Regions from separate parts of the Homo sapiens genome. Here region 2 is linked to region 1. Evidence: promoter capture Hi-C in 16 types of primary human blood cells and fetal thymus (Javierre and others, 2016). All regions are on one chromosome and are shown on one strand. The core of a region is centred on a gene start or on the middle of the fragment in contact, and the rest is flanking DNA. Distances in the headings are between cores, read along the strand shown.

Region 1 (7,286 bases), core at 576-3,075:
TTAATTTTTTTCCACCAAAGTTTGGTTTTATTTGGCTGGGCAGGGTGGCTCACGCCTGTAATCCCAGCACTTTGGGAGCCTGAGGCCAGAAGATCATGAGGTCAGGAGTTCAAGACCGGCCTAACCAACACGGTGAAACTCCATCTCTACTAAAAATACAAAAATTAGCCGGGCGTGGTGTGCGGCTGTAATCCCAGCTACTCAGGAGGCTGAGGCAGGAGAATCGCTTGATCCTGGGAAATGGAAGTTGCAGGGAGCTGAGATCACACCACTGCACTCCAGCCTAGGTGACAGAGCAAGACTCTGTCTCAAAAAAAAAATAATAATAATAATAATGACAATCATTAATTAATCAAACATGAAACAGTGGCTCAAACAATCACCTACAGAATGGGAGTCAAATGATGATAAACAGTGAAAGTTCCGCAGTTCATTATCCATGAACCAAATTCACAAAAACTCTATAGGCCTCCTTCTACCAATAAGACTAAAACCCTAAAGTCACAAAAACCACAGTTCTGGACTCCTGGTATAGATCACACCTACTCCCAGGGGTCTCAAACTAGGGGTCCTAGGGCTGACTAGGCCCACAAATATTCAGTTTGGTGGCATCTGTATAGAATATTTAACTCTTTTTTTTTTTTTTTTTTTGGAGAGATGGAGTCTTGCTATGTTGCCCAGGCTGGTCTTAAACTCCTGGGCTCAAGAGATCTTCCTGCCTCAGCCTCTCAAAGTGCTGGGATCACAGGTGTGAGCCACTGTACCCAGCCAGCTTTTTTTTTTTTTCATTGATATACAATCAATGTAGCTTAAAATGCACACATCCTTCGTTTCTCTTTTTTTTCTTTTGAGACGGAGGCTCACTCTGTCTCCCAGGCTGGAGTGCAGTGGCACGATCTCAGCTCACTGCAACGTCCGCCTCCTGGGTTCAAGTGATTCTCCTGCCTTAGTCTCCCAAATAGCTGAGATTCCAAGACCCCACCACCACGCTCGGCTAATTTTTTTTCTATTTTTAGTAGAGACGGGGTTTCACCATCTTAGCCAGGCTGGTTTCAAACTCCTTAATCCAACCATCCTGTTCATTGTAAATTTGATTATTGTGATACTAGAATAATAAAGCCTTCATCCTTTCCCTCTGGAGGTCTGATTAAGAAGCTCTCTTGGGATGTACAGGCCTAGGAACTCCATTCGAAGATAATGAATTATTATTCTTAGTATTCTTTAGCAGAAAGACTTGCGGTCTACAAACGTTTATATTCACATACACAAATACGCACACCCTATAAACCTAAAAAGCATCTTTATCTTTCGCCATGAAAGTAATGGTCAAAAATAAAACACAACACAATAAGACGAAACCAAACTTACAGATGAAACATTCGTTTGCATAAGAGAAGACAGAAAAGGCCCCCTAGAACCAACTTTCACCCAGTGCTCACCGGAACACTCAGAAATCGCCAGGTCCCTGAACCGGGAAGATCCTGGGGACGGAGCCAACGCGGATGCAAAAGGCAGCAATTATTTTCCTGCCGGAAAAAAATTCACAAACGCTGCTTTGGAGGCCTTTGGAGAGGGGCGCACAGATGAAAACACCCTGCGGACACCGTAACTATAAACCCGACTCCTCCCGAGGAGCGACGGTCCGAGCGGACGCTAGCGGGCCCAGCAGACACGAGCAGAGCGGGCCAGGCCTCTCTAACGTCCGGGCCAAACCCGTCCTTCACCCCAAAACCAGTTCATCTCCTCGGAACTCACCCAGGCCAGTGAGGCCTTAACTCTGAAAGGCAAAAAGACTCTCAGGCGCTCACAGCCGGCGTCACAAAAGGAACGGCGCACCGCTGACGTCATTTACGCTCTCCGCCTCGGGCCAGGCGGGGTTTCGGGACTAGGGTTTCTGCCGTGTAATACCTCCTCGAGGCAGAAAAATTCTACTTTCCATCTGCTTGGCTGCGGAGGACCTTGGGGTGGGCTCAGCGTGGGGGCTGCAGGCAGAAATGGGTCCAGAAGGCAAGGTCGAGGTTAGAGCCAAGCCTGTGGGCAGGGCTACGGGCAGGGGGCGGGGAGGAATGTGGGTCCAGGCCCAGAGGAAAAGGTTGAAGTTATAGCCAGGCCTGTGGGCGAGGCCGCAGCAGGGCGGCCATAGGGGAAGGAGCCAATGTGTTATGCATGTAGAAAATAGGTAACTACGTCTTTTGCTCTGTTACTATTTCAACATTTGATGTAAAAAACATTTTCTATGCAGCTAAAAGAATTGTTTTTAAAAATAATTTCTAGGTTTTCTGCCTTGCTTTAAAACATCTTTTCTTTTTTTTTGAGACAAAATCTCACTCTGTCACCAAGGCTGGAGTTCAGTGGAGCCATCTCAGCTCACTGCAACCTCCACCTCCCAGGTTCAAGCGATTCTCCTGCCTCATCCTCCCAAGTAGCTGGAATTACAGGTGCATGCTGCCACACCCTGCTAATTTTTGTATTTTTAGTAGAGGCAGGGTTTTGCCATGCTGGCCAGGCTGGTCTTGAACTACTTGTCAGGCCTCTGAGCCCAAGTTAAATCATCATAAACCCTGTCACCTGCACGTATACATCCAGATGGCCTGGAGCAACTGAAGAACCACAAAAGAAGTGAAACAGCCAGTTCCTGCCTTAACTGATGACGTTCCACCATTGTGATTTGTTGCTGCCCCACCCCAACTGATCTCTTGACCTTGTGACATTCTTCTTCTGGACGAGTCTCAGGAGTTCCCCACCGAGCACCTTGTGACCCCCGGCCCTGCCAGCAAAAGATAACCACCTTTAACTTTCCACTACCTACCCAAATCCTATAAAACTGCCCCACCCCTATCTCCCTTTGCTGACCCCTTTCTCGGACTCAGCCCACTTGCACCCAAGTGAATAAACAGCCTTGTTGCTAACACAAAGCCTATTGGTGGTCTCTTCACATGGATGTGTGTAACATTTGGTTCCGAAACCTGGGACAGGGGGACTCCCTTGGGAGACTGGCCCCGTCCTCACCCTCACTCCGTGAGGAGCTCCACCTACTACCTCGGGTCCTCAGACTAGCCCAAGGAACATCTCACCAATTTCAAATTGGGTAAGCAGTCTCTTCACTCTCTTCTCCAGCCTCTCTCACTACCCTTCCATCTCTCTGTCCTTCCAATTCCAGTTCTTTTTCCTCTCCAGTAGAGACAAAGGAGACACATTTTATCTGTGGACCCAAAACTCCAGCTCCAGTCACGGACTCAGGAAGACAGTCTTTCCTTGGTGGCTAATCACTGTAGGGATACCTGCCTGATTATTCACCTACATTCCATTGGTGTCTGATCACTGTGGGGATGCCTGCCTTGATCATTCACCCACATTCCCTTGGTGGCAAGTCAATTGCAGGGCTGCCTGCTTTGGCTGCTTACCCACATTACAGCCCAGGGCTGCTCACCCCCACCCCACTCCACTGCCTTCTCCATGTCTCTACCTTTCTCTTTAAACTTACCTCCTTCACTATGGGCAATCTTCTGCCCTCCATTCCCTGTTCTTCTCCCTTAGCCTGTGTTCTCAAGAACTTAAAACCTATTCAACTCACACCTGACCTAAAACCTAAATACCTTATTTTCTTCTGCAACACCACTTGGCCCCAGTACAAACTTGACAATGGTTCTAAATGGCCAGAAAATGGCACTTTTGATTTCTCCATCCTACAAGATCTAGATAATTTTTGTCATAAAATGGGCAAATGGTCTGAGATGCCTGACATCCAGGCATTCTTTACACATTGGTCCGTCCCTAGTCTTTGCTCCCAATGTGACTCATCCCAAATCTTTCTTGTTTCTTTCTTGTCCTTTGAATCCTCCTTTTCTATGGACCCATCTGACCTCTCCCCTCCCCCTCAGGCTGCTCCTCGCCAAGCTGAGCCAGGTCCTAACGTATCCAGAATTGGTGGGTTCTTGGTCTCACTGACTTCAAGAATGAAGCCGTGGACCCTCGCGGTGAGTGTTACAGTTCTTAAAGGCGGCGTGTCTGGAGTTTGTTCCTTCTGATGTTCGGATGTGTTCAGAGTTTCTTCCTTCTGGTGGGTTTGTGGTCTCGCTGGCTCAGGAGTGAAGCTACAGACCTTTGCGGTGAGTGTTACAGCTCTTAAAGGCAGCATGGACCCAAAGAGTAAGCAGTAGCAAGATTTATTGCAAAGAGCAAAAGAACAAAGCTTCCACAGCGTGGAAGGGGACCCAAGGGGGTTGCCACTGCTGGCTCAGTAGCCTGCTTTTATTCTCTTATCTGGCCCTACCCACATCCTGCTGATTGGTAGAGCCGAGTGGTCTGTTTTGACAGGGTGCTGATTGGTGTGTTTACAAACCTTGAGCTAGATACAGAGTGCCAATTGGTGTTTCCACAATCCCTGAGCTAGACATAAAGGTTCTCCACATCCCCACCAGACTCAGGAGCCCAGCTGGCTTCACCCAGTGGATCCCGCACTGGGGCTGCAGGTGGAGCTGCCTGCCAGTCCCGCGCCATGTGCCCGCACTCCTCAGCCCTTGGGTGGTTGATGGGACTGGGCACCATGGAGCAGGGGGGAGCTCTCATCAGGGAGGCTCGAGCTGCACAGGAGCCCATGGAGGGGGTGGGAGGCTCAGGCATGGCGGGCTGCCAGTCTTGAGCCCTGCCCTGTGGGAAGGCAGCTAAGGCCTGGCGAGAAATCAAGCGCAGCACCAGTGGGCTGGCACTGCTAGGGGACCCAGTACACCCTGTGCAGCTGCTGGCCTGGGTGCTAAGCCCCTCATTGCCTGGGGCCAGCAGGGCCGGCCAGCTGCTTCGAGTGCAGCCGCCAAGCCCACGCCCACCTGGAACTCCAGCTGGCCCGCAAGCACCATGCACAGCCCCAGTTCCCGCTCGCGCCTCTCCCTCCACACCTCCCTGCAAGCTGAGGGAGCTGGCTCCAGCCTTGGCCAGCCCAGAAAGGGGCTCCCACAGTGCAGCAGTGGGCTGAAGGGCTCCTCAAGTGCCGCCAAAGTGGAAGCTCAGGCAGAGGAGGCGCCAAGAGTGAGCGAGGGCTGTGAGGACTGCCAGCACGCTGTCACCTCTCACTAATTCTTCCTCAGCCTCTGCTCCCTACCCTGTGATCTTTCTATCACCTCCCCTTCTCACACCCGGTCCAGCTTACAGTTTCATTCCATGACTAGCCCTCCCCCACCTGCCCAACAATATCCTCTTAGAGAAGTGGCTGGAGCTGAAGGCATAGTCGAGGTTAATGCTCCTTTTTCTTCATCCAACCTCTCCCAAGTCAGTTAGCATTTAGGCTCTTTTTCATCAAGTATAAAAACCCGGCCCAGTTCATGGCCTGTTTGGCAACAACCCTTAGACAGTTTACCACCCTAGAACCAGAGAGGCCAGAAGGCCATCTTATTCTCAATATGCATTTTATTCTCAATATGCATTTTATTACCCAATCTGCTCCCAAGACTAGAAAAAGCTCCAAAAATTAGATTCTGACCCTCAACCCCCACAACAGGACTTAATTAACCTCACCTTGAAGGTGTACAATAATAGAGAAGAGGCAGCCAAGTGGCGTTGTATTTCTGAGTTGCAATTACTTGCCTCTGCTGTGAGATAAACCCCAGCCACATCTCCAGCACATAAGAACTTCAAAATGCCTAAACCACAGAGGCCAGGTGTTCCTCCAGGACCTCCTCCCTCAGGTTCTTGCTTTAAGTGCTGGAAATCTGGCCACTGGGCCAAGGAATGCCCGCAGCCCAGGATTCCTCCTAAGCCATGTCCCATCTGTGGGACCCCACTTGAAATCGGACTGTCCAACTCACCTGGCAGCCACTACCAGAGCCACTGGAACTCTGGCCCAAGGCTGTCTGACTGACTCCTTCCCAGATCTTCTCGGCTTAGCAGCTGAAGACTGACACTGCCCGATCACCTCGGGAGCCTCCTGGACTATCACAGATGCTTTGGGTAACTCTTACAGTGGAGGGCAAGTCTGTCCCCTTCTTAATCAATACAGAGGCTACCCACTCCACATTACCTTCTTTTCAAGGGCCTGTTTCCCTTGCCTTCATAACTGCCGTGGGTATTGATGGCCAGGCTTCTAAACCTCTTAAAAATCCCCAACTCTGGTGCCAACTTGAACAACTTTCTTTTATGCACTCTTTTTAGTTATCCCCACCTGCCCAGCTCCCTTATTAGGTCAAGACATTTTAACTAAATTCTCTGCTTCCCTCACTATTCCTGGGCTATAGCCACACCTCATTGCCACCCTTTTCCCCAGTTCAAAGCCTCCTTTGCCTCCTCCCCTTGTGTCTCACTACCTTAATCCACAAGTATGGGATACCTCTACTCCCTCCTTAGCAACTGATCATGCACCCCTTATCATCCCTTGGGGGTAAAACCTAATCACCCTTACCCTGCTCAATGCCAATATCCCATCCCACAACAGGATTTGAGGGGACTAAAGCCTGTTATCACTTCCCTGTTACAGCATGACCTTTTAAAGCCTACAAACTCTCCTTACAACTCTCCTATCCTACCTGTCCAAAAACTGGACAAGTCTTACAGGCTGGTCCAGGATCTTTGCCTTATCAACCAAATTGTCTTGCCTATCCACCCCATGGTGCCAAACCCATATACTCTCCTATCCTCAATACCTCCCTCCTCAACCCATTATTCTGTTCTGGATCTCAAAGATGCTTTCTTTACTATTCCTTTACACCCTTAATCCCAGCCTCTCTTCACTTTAACTTGGACTGACCCTGACACCCGTCAGTCTCAGCAACTTACCTGGGCTGTACTGCTGCAAGGCTTCAGGGACAGCCCCCGTTACTTCAGTCAAGCACTTTCTCATGATTTACTTTCTTTCCATCCATCTGCTTCTCACCTTATTCAATATTTTGATGACCTCCTACTTTATAGCCCCTCCTACAAATCTTCCCAACAGGACACCCTCCGGCTCCTCCAACATCTATTCTCAAAGGGATATCGCGTATCCCCCTCAAAATCCCAAATTTCTTCTTCATCCGTTACCTATCTCGGCATAATTCTTCATAAAAACACACGTGCTTTCCCTGCTGATCATGTCTGGCTAATCTCCCAAACCCCAATGCCTTCTACAAAACAACAACTCCTTTCCTTCCTAGGCATGCTTGGGTACTTTCACCTTTGGATACCTGGTTTTGCCATCCTGACTAAACCATTATATAAACTCACAAGGAAACCTAGCTGGCCCCATAGATCCTAAATCCTTTCCCCACTCCTCTTTCCATTCCTTAAAAACAGCCCTGGAAGCTGCTCCCACACTAGCT
Region 2 (7,286 bases), core at 2,288-4,787, 390 kb before region 1:
AGAATGGACTAATACACCATCACCCAGCACTGACAACCCCTGAAAGTGATAGAATCACTCAGGTGAGAACTTGGCCAGAAGCTCCACTCTGAGCTCTGGTTTGCATCGTTGCAAAACATCGACAAGGTTCCACAGACTGAATTGATGTGGGTGCGCTCTCTAAGCTCCAGCCCTCTGGACACTTTGTCCTTCATGGAGGGTGGTGGTGGATGTTGGCCCCAGGGTGTTGGGCTAAGCCATAGGGCTGTGTCCTAGTACCTGGATTACTGTTTAATTTCACAGGACCTTCTGAGGAGATCCCAGACCCCCTACATTCCATAGGCCCCTCCTTTATGGTCTCCCAAGGTCTGGGTGGCTGTCTCAGTATGAAGGCAAATGTAGATCAGCTTGCTCATCATCCATTCATTCTTTCATTCCCTACTTATTGTCTTATTTATATCAGGCACTGGAATGGTGAATGAAATATCATCAAAGTAAAAAGTCTCTACTCACCTGGAATGTATTTTCTAGTTGGGCATACAGGAAATCAAAACAAGTAAACTACATAGTGTGCATGGAGGAGACAGCAGAGAGATAATAATGCTTACCCGGTGTTCTGTGTCCTGTCCTACATTTCCCAGGATCCTTGGAGCTGGCAGGGGCATGTGACTAGTTCTGGCCAATGGGCTGCAAGTGCTTCAGGGTCAAAATATAGACGACAGAATGCATAGTTGTCCAGCTTCCTGCTCATCATCTATGACCAACATGGCCAAGGGTATCAGTTGGTTCAGAGACAAGTGGCATCCTTGAACAACAGGAAAACTTTTGACATCAGCCTGGGTTGAACAAGTGACATGAGCAAGGCGTAAACTTTCCATTTTATTGAGTCATTGAGATTTGGGTTTGTCTGTTTTTGCAGTAAAAAATAGAGCCTAATCTTACACAGAACATTACTTGGAAATTAGTGCTTTAGGGAAAAAGAAAAGGAGTGGAGAATTGGGATTGAAAGAAGCAGGGGTTTGCATTTTAAAAAGTGGCCAAGGCGGGTGGATCAGCTGAGGTCAGGAGCTCAGGACCAGCCTGGCCAACATGGTGAAACCCTGTCTCTACTAAAAGTACAAAAATTAGCCGGACACAGTGGCACACCTATAGTCCCAGCTACTTGGGAGCCTGAGGCGGGAGAATCACTTGAACCCGGGAGGCGCAGGTTGCAGTGAGCTGAGATCACACTACTGCACTCCAGCCTGGGTGACAGAGCGAGACTCCATCTCAAAAGAAAAGAAAAGAGTGGCCAGTGAATGCCAGATCAGGACAGGTAAAGTTGAATAAAGATCTGAAGGATGAGAGGGGGCCAGGCACACTGAGAATGTGGGGGAAACATTTCAAGCAGAGGAGCAGCAGGTGCACAGACCCTGAGGTGGGAGCATGGCTGGCGGGGCCTGATGCACAGCAGTGAGGCTTCTGTGGCTTGGGTGAGGGACCAGTGGCAGAGCGAGTTGTGGGTGAGGCGGCAGGGACCTGGGCCCTTGGTCTGAGTGAGATGGGACACCATCAGAGGATCTTGAACAGAGGAGCGGTGTGATCTTCATTTTACCCATAAAGTTACGGCTGTCATGGAAGCTAAGGGAAGTCAGGGACAGCAGCTGGGAGACCAGTTAGGAAGCAGTTGGAATGTTCTAGAAGAGAAGCGATGCCTTATGCCAAGGCAGTAGCAGTGTAGGTGGTGAGAAGCAACCAGATTTTTGTATTAAGTTTTAAAGTTAAGGCTGGCAGGATTTGCTGGTGATGCAGGTGTGGTTTATGGAAAAGAAAGAGGAGAGTTGAAGGTGATGACGAGCAAGGCTTTTGACTTGAGCCCCTGGGAGGCTGGAGCTGCCATCAACGTGGGGAGGCTGGTGGCAGCACAGTTGTAGGTGTTTAATGTGGGATCCTGTTGGCTGTTGCAGTAGGGATACTAAGTAGCCACCTGGCTGCCACTCACTCTGAGTCATTCTGGGTGGGGCAGGTGCCAGGGAGCGGAGAGTGGCACCCACTATAAATGAACAATTCTGTTAAGTAATTGTGAAATCGTCAGTGGTCATTTTATTTTAATGATAATGGCATTTTAGAGTGAATGTTTGTTTACTGAGCCTATAGAGTTCCATACATAACCCAGTGTTAAAGTCTTCAGTTTCCAGATGAGAAAACTGAGTTTTGATGAACTGACTCTTGGGAGGGGAATGAGCAGAACTGTGGGCTTGCATTAAAGGGGAGTCTACTGAGGCCTCAGGGACAGGGAGACCTTCACAGAAGTGCAATCAGAACCTGGGTGTCAGCACCTCCAAATGGTGGGGGTGTTTCACAATGTGGACCTGTGGGAGATGGGGGAGAGGGGCCCAGGGGAACCCTGACCTTTAGGGGCTGGGCAGAGGAGGGATCTCAAGCCAGAGTCTTCAAAAGAGCAACCAGAGATGTGAGCACAGACTGGGATGAGTGGGCTATGGCTGCAAGAGCAGTGGCATTCCCAGGAAGAGGGAGATAGATTCATAGTGAGCAAGATGATGTGTCAGGAGGTCAGGCAAAGGAAGGGTCAAGATGTAGTGTCAAGGAGTTCCCACATAGGGGACAGTACAGGTGACATAGGTCACTTTGAGAGGCAACAAGATGTGGCTCCGCAGTCACGTCAGCTGGGCTCACAACTTCCACCTATGACCTTGACCAAGTGTCTCGGACCCTTGGTGCCTTATTCTCTGGGTACTTGAGAATAATTCCGGGAGGTTGTGAGGATTAAATAGGAGTGGCCCTGGAAAGACTCAGGAGAATGTCTCATACCTTGTAAACACTACACATGTCGTTATTTGTAGAATTGGCATTAATGTTGGTGGGGAAAGGTGGAATGGGACCTGCAGAAGCTTGTTAGTTGAGCATGAATGAATGAATGGTAGGTGAGGATGGAGATACTGTGCCTCAGGAACTGAGCCTCTGTCACCCTCTCTCCCCTTCCTCAGCAGTGACTTAATGTCAGAACCCAAAGGCACAATGACTAGAAAAGGGCTTTGTAAAAAGAATGAAAGCGTCATGCATCTTTGAGTTGGCCCAAGATCAAATTTGGTGTTGAATAATGAATCCCCAAGGCAGAGTTTATACGTTAAAACACACTTCCTATATTATTGTTTTGAAATGTTTCTGAATATCTAAAACAATTCCAATAGCAGAAATACTAATTGATGTTGAAAAAGATTGTTATAACCCTGGTAATGTTTAAAAGTGGTAATATTGATTATTGATCTGAGTCAGATGTTAAAGTAGCAGCGTCACGGTTCTTACATCAGTGCTGTCATGAGAGTCGCGGTGGAAGCCAGAGAGAGGAGGCATGTTCATACAAAGCAAATTAAATCCCCTCCCGAGGTGTGGGCCACCATACCTCACCAATGTATTGTGGTTTTGATGTTATTTCCTTAATGACTGATGTTGTTAATCATCTTTTCATGTGTTTACAGTTCATTTCTGTAAATTTGGAGAAATGTCTGTTCTGTTCAAGTCTCCTGCCCACTTTTTTACTGGGTTGTCTTTGTTGTTGAGTTTATAATGATATTAAATCCCTATCACATACATGATTTGCAAATATTTTCCACCATTCTGTGTCTCATTCACTTTCTTGATAATGTCCTTGATGTTAATTCTAAATGTTTGGTAGGGTTCACCAGTGAAGCCCCTTGGTCCTGGACTTTTTTTTTTTTTTTTTGAGACGGAGTCTTGCTCTGTCGCCCAGGCTGGAGTGCAGTGGCGCAATCTCGGCTCACTGCAAGCTCCGCCTCCCAGGTTCACACCATTCTCCTGCCTCAGCCTCCCGAGTAGCTGGGACTACAGGCACTCATCACCACGCCTGGCTAATTTTTTGTATTTTTAGTAGAGATGGGGTTTTACCGTGTTAGCCAGGATGGTCTCGATCTCCTGACCTCCTGATCCACCCGCCTCGGCCTCCCAAAATGCTGGGATTACAGGCGTGAGCCACCGTGCCCAGCTGGTCCTGGACTTTTTATTTAATGGCTTTTGATGACTGCCTCAGTCTCTTGTTATAGGTCTCTCAATTTTCTTTTTCTTCTAGAGCCTGTTTGGGTATGTTTCAAGGAATTTGATACATCTAGAGCATTGATCCCCAAGCCCTGGGCCACAGACAGGTACCGGTCCCTGGCCTTTTAGGAACAAGGCCCTGCCGCAGGAGGTGAGCGGAGGGCAAGTGAGTGAAGCTTCATCTGTATTTACAGCGGCTCCCCATCACTCACATTACCCCTGAACTCCACCTCCTGTCAGATCATCAGCAGCATTAGATTCTCATAGGGGCGCAGACCCTATTGTGCACTGCACATGCAAGGGATCTAGATTGCACACTCCTTATGAAAATCTAATGCCTGATGATCTGTCAGTGTCTCCCATCACCTCCAGATGGGACCATCTAGTTTCAGGAAAACACTCTCAGGGCTTCCACTAATTCTATATTATGGTGAGTTGTATAATTATTTTACCATATATTACAATGTAATAATAATAGAAATAAAGTGCACAATAAATGTAATGCACTCAAGTCATCCCAAAACCATCCCCCCTCACCTCACCATCCATGGAAAAATTGTCTTCCATGACACCAGTCTCTGATGCCAAATTGGGTGGGGACTGCTAGTGTAGATGATCTAATGTGTTGGTGCATAATTGTTCATGGCATTCTCTTACAGCCCTTTGAATTTCCGTAAGGTCGGTAGTAATGTCCCACTTCCACTGATGATTTTAGTTACTTGCATCTTTTTTTGTTAGTAATTCTAGCTGTAGTTTTGTCACCTTTGTTGATCTTTTTGAAAGAACCAACTTTTGTTTTCATTAATTCTCCTATTCTCTATTTCATTTGTCTCTGCTTTAATCTTTATTTCTTCACTTTTGCTTTCCCTAGGTTTAGTGTGTCAAGGTAGTTGTTTTTGTTTGTTTGTTTGTTTGTTTGTTTGTTTGAGACTGAGTCTCGCTCTCTCACCCAGGCTAGAGTGTGATGGCACGATCTCAGCTTACCTCAACCTCCGCCTCCCGGGTTCAAGCGATTCTCCTGCCTCAGCCTCCCGAGTAGCTGGGATTACAGGCATGCACCACCATGCCCAGCTAATTCTTTGTATTTTTAGTAGAGACGGGGTTTCTCCATGTTGGTCAGGCTGGTCTCGAACTCTCGACCTCAGGTGATCCACCCACCTTGGTCTCCCAAAGTGCTGGGATTACAGGTGGGAGCCACTGCACCTGGCTGGAACTGGTTTTTGTATGAGATGTCTTACTGGTGGCTTTTCCTAGGCAAAGGGAATAAGATCTCGAGTTCCTACTGGAACCTAAGTGTTAGAGATGGGGATTCAGGTTAAATGAGTGGATGTGATTACCTGGGCAAAGCATGAGGCATGCGAAGGAATGGGTAAAGAATGGCTCTTGAGCAGAATCAGCCTTTAGTGGTGAAAGAGGACCTCTGGATGGTCCAGATGATCCAGAGAAGCAGGGAAAGAACCAGGAGACAGTTGTAGAGGAGCCGAGAATAGAGAATGATTCTCAAAGAAAATAGACACCACATTTTCGTGAGACTCTAAGACTGAAGTGCATTTACTGGATTCACTGACACGGGAGTAAATTGTATTTTCTGTGAGGATGGGGATGATGGTAGTGGATGCTGGGTGTACTGAATTGGGAGATGGTGAATGTAGACTGCTCCTAAGTTTTTGCTCGGAAGGGGGCACTAAGGGGAGCCAGGGCAGGCATTGGTTTCAAGATGGGATAGACCTGAGCATGTGTCCATGCATAGGAAATTGTCTAGCAGGGCGAGAAATGAGGCTGAAAGTAAAGGAGAGCCAGGTAGTGCGAGGGTCCAGAGACGGGGATGGGCCTGGAGCAGATTTGAAAGGATTGCCTTGAGAAGGGAGGGCAGACATCTCTTTGTCATAGAAGGAAAGGAGGAGGTCATAGATCAGTTGTGAGAAGACTGTTTAAATAACTAGAAGCAAGAAGGTAAGAAAGCCTCATTTTTTTTCTTTCTTTTAAGCAGGGTTTAATATATGTTCAAGAAAATGCATAGGTCTTACTTAGGTGATCAGTTTGAATTTTTGACAATTGTGTACACTGTACATCTGAAAATAGGTAAGTTTCTATCATCCTAGAAAGTTCCCTTTGCTTCTTTCAGTCTATCCCTGTCTTATCCTCCATTGAAGAAACCCCCTTTTTTTTTTCAATTCTATCAACTTAATTACGTTTTGCCTATTCATGGACATTATATTGTTGGAATCAGAGCGTTTCTTGTGTGTCCAGTTTCTTTTGGCCAGCATCGTAGGGATTTCTCCATGTAGTGTGTCTGCATAGTTTCTTTTTATTGCTGAGTAGTATTCCATTCTGTAAACATTGCAATTTGTATATCCATTCTCTGGTTGATAGATGTTTAGATTGTTTACAGTATTTGGCTATTAGGAATCAGACTACTACAGACATTTTTGTACGAGTCTTTGTGGATATAAATTGTTTACAGTTTCTCTTATATAAATATCTAGGAGCAGAATTGTTGGATCAGATAGTCAGTGTGCTTGTTAAAAACTGCCAAAGTGTTTTCCAAAGTAGTTGAACTATTTCACACTCCTACCATCAGGATATGAGAGGTGCCAGTGTGCCCCAAACTCAGCAGCATTTAGTATTGGTAGTCTTTTTTATTTTGGCTGTTCTAGTTTTAATTTGCATTTCTCTAATGACTATGATATTCAACACCATTCGATGTGATTCTTACTGGTTTTGTGAAATGTCTGTTTATTAATTAAAGTCTTTTACCCTTTTTGTTGGGTTGATTTTCTTTCTTTCTTTCTGTTTTGAAGGAGTTCTTTTTATTTTTTCCAATAAGCCTTTTGCACTCCTATCTAGGAGTTCTTTAATCTGAATACGAATTCTTTTTCAGGTGTATGCATTGCAGATATTTTTTTCCCAATCCGTGGTTCACTGTTCATTTTCCTTTTTTCTTTTTCTTTTTTTGTTTTTAGAGACAGAATCTTACTCTATTGCCCAGGCTGGAGTGCATGATGGTAGCTCACTGCAGCTGTTCTCTATGAATTTTTAAGTTTCTGATTCATCTCAAAAGATGTTTAAATTCAAATTCAGTGAGTGGAGGAGGTGGCAGAAGCATAGGTGGCCGCGAATCTCTAAAGTGAGAGTTGATGTGAGAAGGTTGCACAGGAGACTTTGCCCAGAGAGCAGATTTCCAAATCATTGCCTGTGAGGTGAGGCTGATTCTAGTGATGATGCAGTCCAGGCCATGGCCCAAGGGTGTATAT

Evidence for each region. Contacts are between HindIII fragments. The CHiCAGO score rates a contact against its expected background, and 5 or more counts as called.
Region 2: a contact is called between a fragment that was not itself captured here and the fragment with the promoter of ZNF426 in region 1, in 1 of 17 cell types (erythroblasts). The highest score is 5.4, in erythroblasts.

Annotation. Positions count from the first base shown.
Region 1 is chr19:9,536,820-9,544,105 of GRCh38, forward strand. ZNF426 (zinc finger protein 426) reads right to left here and starts at 1,826. Exons shown (of 8, transcript NM_024106.3): 1 at 1,756-1,826; 2 at 1,440-1,526. ZNF426-DT (ZNF426 divergent transcript) reads left to right here and starts at 1,847. Exons shown (of 2, transcript NR_134921.1): 1 at 1,847-2,179; 2 at 2,587-2,911. RefSeq lists enhancers at 1,132-1,867, 1,874-1,923, 2,124-2,193, 2,848-4,047. The HindIII fragment of the contact is 12,585 bases long and covers 1-4,190 here.
Region 2 is chr19:9,148,222-9,155,507 of GRCh38, forward strand. All of the region lies in intron 1 of ZNF317 (zinc finger protein 317), which reads left to right. Among named protein-coding and RNA genes, the nearest start is that of ZNF317, 11 kb to the left of the region's middle. The HindIII fragment of the contact is 1,338 bases long and covers 2,869-4,206 here.